2 separate regions of the Homo sapiens genome follow, and region 2 is linked to region 1. Evidence: promoter capture Hi-C in 16 types of primary human blood cells and fetal thymus (Javierre and others, 2016). All regions are on one chromosome and are shown on one strand. The core of a region is centred on a gene start or on the middle of the fragment in contact, and the rest is flanking DNA. Distances in the headings are between cores, read along the strand shown. Region 1 holds the start of ALKBH1 (alkB homolog 1, histone H2A dioxygenase). Region 2 overlaps CIPC (CLOCK interacting pacemaker).

The links. The method cuts DNA at HindIII sites, captures the fragments that hold promoters and counts their contacts. A CHiCAGO score of 5 or more calls a contact.
Region 2: a fragment that was not itself captured here is called in contact with the fragment with the promoter of ALKBH1 in region 1 in 1 of 17 cell types (total B cells); the score reaches 5.8 in total B cells.

Annotation. Positions count from the first base shown.
Region 1 is chr14:77,706,445-77,709,476 of GRCh38, reverse strand. It overlaps ALKBH1 (alkB homolog 1, histone H2A dioxygenase), which reads left to right and starts at 1,454. Exons shown (of 6, transcript NM_006020.3): 1 at 1,454-1,655. The coding sequence starts at 1,473. It overlaps SLIRP (SRA stem-loop interacting RNA binding protein), which reads right to left and starts at 1,374. Exons shown (of 4, transcript NM_031210.6): 1 at 1,269-1,374. The coding sequence starts at 1,365. RefSeq lists an enhancer at 1,491-1,820. The HindIII fragment of the contact is 1,367 bases long and covers 1,215-2,581 here.
Region 2 is chr14:77,113,823-77,116,854 of GRCh38, reverse strand. CIPC (CLOCK interacting pacemaker) reads right to left here. Exons shown (of 4, transcript NM_033426.3): 4 at 1-3,032. The coding sequence ends at 2,537. Among named protein-coding and RNA genes, the nearest start is that of CIPC, 17 kb to the right of the region's middle. The HindIII fragment of the contact is 1,963 bases long and covers 501-2,463 here.

The DNA of each region.
Region 1 (3,032 bases), core at 205-2,704:
AAACTCCTCAGCCTTTCCATAAAGTTTCACAGGGACTACGGGAGACTTTACTGGGCTTGGTCTTCACCAACCACATGTTTAAAACACGGGGCACAAACCAACCTATTTCCCATTCTACTACTCACATCTGAGCCACTAAAAACTTAGAAGAAACTAAATCTTGCTCCATTTTGTTTCCAGGGGTTGACCTGAAACATGAATATCTACAAAAAGAGTGACCACGAATGTTTACATGTTGGTAAGCAAATATAAAAACCTCATCTCAAAACTGCAGCTGACAAAAATTGAAGGTGGTGAAAGATTTCAGAACTAATTATTCCAACCTTTATCTGTAGACTAGGCCTCTCCCGTAAGTTTCAATTTTAGTTACCGTGAAAATAACTATCATTTGCTGAGTACTTACACTGTATCTAACACAAGTCTAAGAAGTTTGCATATAAACTCAATCCTCTCAACAATCCTATGAGTTGGGTATTATTGACTCCATTTTATCGATGAGTAAACTGAGGCCCAGTTGTGAGCCCTTTTCCCATACTAACTTCAGTTATTCAAGTGATAACAACGATTAAATGGCCAAGTTGGAATTCTAACCCCAACGGTCTAGCTTCGGAGTCCACTTCTCAGCCACAATGATATACAACCTTTGTCCAATTGCCTGACGGAAACCTCACAAGTTTCTCAAAGTCAACACATTCAAACTTTACTCATCTTCTCTTGGCCTGCTCCTAACTTCTAAACAAACAATTCACCAATGCTAAAAACCCAGAAATCATTTCTCCCTTTCCTTTATTCCGTACACTTCTCCCACTTAAGCCATCACGAAACGGCATCTAATTTGCTTTTAAAACATTAATGCATCTGACCACCATCCTTCTACCATCGCCCTAATTCAGGTCCTCACGTTTTAAGTAAATTAATGAAATTGCCTTTTAGCTCCTCTGCACGCCTACAATCTTGCCACCTTGAATCCATCCTCCACACTACAGTCAAAATTATCCCTTCTAAATTGTAAATCTTGGTTACCAAGTAATAAATCTTTACACCAAATCACTCCTAAAGGCAAGAGCCGGTGCATTCGTGACCCCAAAAGCTCAAGGGACATCCCTAAACGGTTAACTGCAAACAAAATTTCTTTCTGCTCACTTGCATGCTCAGGAGCAGTCTCCTAATTCAGCCACCACGCTGACTTAAGTACCCTGCAAAAAGCAGAAGCTTTGAGGATCACTTGGACCTAAAAATTCCACTACTCCCACATCTCCATCACTCACTCGACGCCGCAGTCCAAGGAATTCTTCTCACAAAAGCAACCGGCTGATTGATACTTCTACGCAGCGCCGCAGCACCTCTCGCTGCTGAGGCCGCCATCTTCAGACTAAAGCACCTTCTCGAGCCGAGGTCGCGGCCCCGGAAAAAATTTCCGGATCCGGAACACGAGAGAATCTGCTTCCGGATCAGAGGGTATAGGCCGCGAGATGGGGAAGATGGCAGCGGCCGTGGGCTCTGTGGCGACTCTGGCGACTGAGCCCGGGGAGGACGCCTTTCGGAAACTTTTCCGCTTCTACCGTCAGAGCCGGCCCGGGACCGCAGACCTGGAAGGGGTCATCGACTTCTCGGCGGCCCACGCAGCCCGTGGCAAGGGTCCTGGTGCCCAAAAGGTACAGAGAGAGGAGTGGCGCGCGTCTCTCCATCGCTTTGCCCCGCGTCTTGGAGGGACTTACGTGTCTTCTTCGCCTCTTTTCACCTCCAGACCGATTGTTATTGAACGATTCCTGACCTCCTTTGGCTGCAGAGTCGAACTCCCCACTAACCGTCACACTTAGCAATAAAGCGTTGAGATGCCTGTTTCTTTAGGCGGCCATTCCTGGCGGGGGCGCTCAGTCAAAAGAGCCTGGGAATCCGTGTTTATTTCTTACTGTAACTGTCTCCTCACATTTCTGTTTGGGTTTTTGTAAAACCCCATAGAACGTCTTTGTAGACGGTAGGGTAGACTTCTGCAGCTTAAAAAAAACCACTCCCGAGGAATCCCAGAACTGACAGGGATGCGGCGCTGTTTGTTAAGCCACTGTGCGTAAAACTAGTCCCTGTCTTCTCCTCTGGCTCTTTTAGAAGGAGGTCATTGAAGGATTCTGAGAATCCCTCCGTGTTGAAAATAAATGGCAAACAAGTATATATGGAATACAGGCACCGTTCTCTCTCTCAGCTTTTCCCCATGGAGATTAAGAAGGGGAACACAGTCCGGGAGCGGTGGCTCAAGCCTGTAATCCCGCACTTCGGAGGCCGAGGCGGGTGGATCGCTTGAACCCAGGGGTTCGAGACCAGCCTGGGGCATGGCAAGACCCCCGTTTCCGCCAAAAATACAAAAAATTAGCCAGTCTCATAACCTGTTCTCAAGTAAATAGATTTTTTAAAAATTATTTTTTTAAGGGAACATAACAGGCAAGAGGGAAAACGGGGAACCAAAACTGTAGTCCAATTTATATTTTCTTTCTTTACAATCCACTTTAACGTTGAGGATATGCAGTCCCTTAATTTGCTCTTGGTGTTGTCCACAGATGTCTAGATGAGGCATTCTTTCCAAGCTTCCTAACAGCTCTGATAAAATTGGGATGCTACAGTATTAAGTGTTAATGATTGCATACTTGAGCTCAGCTTTTCAGCACCTTCATTTGTTAGGGAAAAAAAGTGGTCTTAGAGTTGTCAAAATACAGAAAGTCCACACCCCAATAATAATATACTTTTTCTCTCCAGAGCGCTTCAGACTCTCATTCAGCTCCTTTTACCTACATTTTACCATAATATGTACATGCTTTTTAGAATGTCAGCCATCAGGGAATGAGCCATTATGTGTCTAGTACAGGACCTAAAACAGTACTAAGTACAGTATGTGTTGAGTACATGAAAGCTTGGGTGTTTAGTTCCTCAGCTCAAAGCAGATTAAAGTAGTAATTAAGAGAAGTTACTATTACAAGCCAGCTGATGAGACTGGTGGGGAAAGTGGTGGTTAACAGTCTGGCAAGGGAGGAAAGAGAAAA
Region 2 (3,032 bases), core at 233-2,732, 590 kb after region 1:
ATCACTACTTACAGCCTTGGGCAACCGATGGAGATCTTTCTGGTCACCTCCGAGGTTCCTCCATTTGCTGATCTGGCTTCTGGACTCAATGGATCTCTCCTTCCAAGATCTATCTTCTCTACTTGGGTTCATCTGCTTACAGCTCCAACAGAGAACAAATGCCCATGGTAATAGCCTGGAGAGACTTCTAGCACTAAGTTACAAGATTAGAAAAGAGCTGAGAGTGGTGCTGCTTCTCCCTGCCACTCAGCAGTGAGGATTGATAGTGGCTTTCATCATCTTTTACTGAAACAGGGAGGGAAATGCAAGCCTTAATCTAGGAAGAAGAGTCCAAGAGGCTTATAGCTCCACAGAGGGTTTTTCCAATGGAATAAATTTGGTTCTCAGCAAGTGTTTTCAGATTTTTGACACAGTAAGACTCATGACTGGTGCCCAGGATGTTCTGAATGCACCTGTCTCTATAGCTTTGCTGCCAAACATATTCTGCCAAAAAGGAAGCTTCCTAGCATGGTGCACAGAGTAGAGCTGCTATAGTACCACACAGATTCAGGGGAAGCAAAGAGAGTGGGCCAAGAGAAAAATATTAAAAGGAGCTGAATCTGCCTAAAGACACATTTGCTCTGATTTCTGAAATTCTTTCAGAAAGCAAACAGCAGGTAATAATTCTGCGTTCATGAGTGGAGTCTAGGGATGTTACCAAGTTGTTCACTTCTACATCAGTCATATCTAAATCACACGTTTGTGAACAAAGTATAGGCAATCTGAAGCCACATACTTTTTAAACTATGTTAGAGTTACAACTACCTAGGAAATGTCATATTTAACTTCTGGTCTTGGTAAAACTTTTCTTTGCAGACAGGGTGAAGCTGAGCTGAGCGTGGTGGCTCAGGCCTGTAAGCCCAGCACTTTGGGAGGCTGAGGCAGGCGGATCAACTGAGGTCAGGAGTTCGAGACCAGCCTGGCCAACACGGTAAAACCCCATTTCTACTAAAAATACAAAAATTAGCTGGGCATGGTGGCAGGCACCTGTAATCCCAGCTACTTGGGAGGCTGTGGCAGGAGAATCACTTGAACCCAGGAGGCGGAGGTTGCAGTGAGCCGAGATCCCACCATTGTACTCCGCCTGGGCAACAAGAGCGAAACTCCATCTCAAAAAAAAAAAAAAGGAAGATGAAGCTGACCATATAGAACTTATTAAGATAATTTTGTAAAGAACAAAGATTTTCAAGAGGATGAAATTTTAAATTGAGAGAATATTTTGAAACTTTACTATTTAGAAACATAGTTGCCTATTTAATGAAGCTGAAAAGAACGTGTATCATCTGGAAACTCTGGTCATGGTCTCCATTTTGAGATGAACTTCATATAACCAACATTACACCTCTGGCTTTGTTGCCAATATCTAACACATGAAGGAAACACAGAAGACGCTGCTCTGTAACTGCTTCCCATCACTATGACATGGAACAAATAAAAATTTGGGATGTGAAGAAAATGGGTAAGATGCTTTCCAATTTTTTGTGGACTTATCATACCCTCAAGACAACTGTATTTAATTCAAAGTTTATCAAGCATAATAATCACTTATCAAAATAAAGGAAAAAAAAAAAAAACAAGATGGCAGCAGAGTTAACTTATACTACATCCCAGGAACCACTGAAACTATCCTTAAGATTTTTAGACATAAAACAGGTTACACTGTTTCAAAAGAAGAGAGAAAAAAAGCCTAAGTTACCAGAATCGTCCAGCTCCTGACCATGAGATATGCCGGCTATGTCTATTTTCTTCAGCTTCTAAGTCAAAAAAGCAATTCATCGACTACAATTCCAGATGTACTGCATTCATTCCATACCTTAAAATTTGGAAGTACTGTTTTTGCCTGCTAGTTTAAGAAAAATCTGACTTGTAATGAAAGTGTAGGAGTCAGATGGTACTACTCTTTCCCTTGATTTTCAAGTGTAAGAAAACAAAGCGTTGAGTGATTAAGTGCTCACACCCAGGTGCAACCTGTGCCCAGGGAATTTTAGGTCTCGCCCAACTAGTACGATGCCTTGTGGGATGCAAACAACCTCCTCTTATTTCTCTCTGTGACTAAGACAGGCAAGGGAAGATCCATGAAGGTTTCCTTGTGTCACCTACTCCCTGGCTCAACAGGTGTTGCTCTGTATGCTCATTCGTGTTACTGTACCCTTGATCCTGGTGAGAGAGTGGGATGATGGGAGGTGACAGCAGGAAGAGCCCCACACAATCATCTCCTGCTTTGCCCCATGATCCATTGAAGCACCTGCAGGCTAAGGAAAAGGGGCTCAAGGGCACTCCCAAACTGAGGTCCTCAGTGGGACGGGGACATATGTATCCTGTGCCCAGACTACGAGTTAAGACAGCAGCCAGGTATTGGCACGTGGCTTCCTAAGTGAACCACAACACAGTTTAAGTTTAGAAGGAAAAGCTCTTACATAAGCTTTGGGAAACAGGAGTAGGTAACAGCAAATGAGCTAAAAGAACCACTCAAGTAACAGGAAAATATGCCTCTGTGCTATATGGCTGGGTGATCAGAGAATGCTTCTAGGTCACTGCCTGTATTACTGGACCCAGGTGTTAAAGATGCCTGCAGCTTGGCCCAAGCCTGAGGGGCCCTGCTCTTGGTGGCTTCTATAAACAGCTGGGTTTGCTCCTTTAGCTGGTCTAGTTCTACCTGAGTTGCCTGATTCTGACGAATCAACTCCTTGGTTTTCAAAGTGATCTCCAGCAAACCAGATTTATGTAGGACTACTAGGGTATTCTGAAAGCGCCTATGTTTGCTCTGCCGCTGCTCTGAAAAGATATCTGGGCTGCGGCAGAGGTGCTCTGCAGCCCATAAAGGTGAGCTATAATTAGCGGACAGTGGTGAAAGGGGAGAGTTGCTCTCTAACCCATGGAGAGTGCTGTCTGATGCGCAGACAGGACTGGCGGGGGAAGCGAAGGTCAGACTGGGAGCTTTAGCCACGTGACTGCTGGATACCGGCTGAAGAGTCTGTGGACTTCCACCTGCC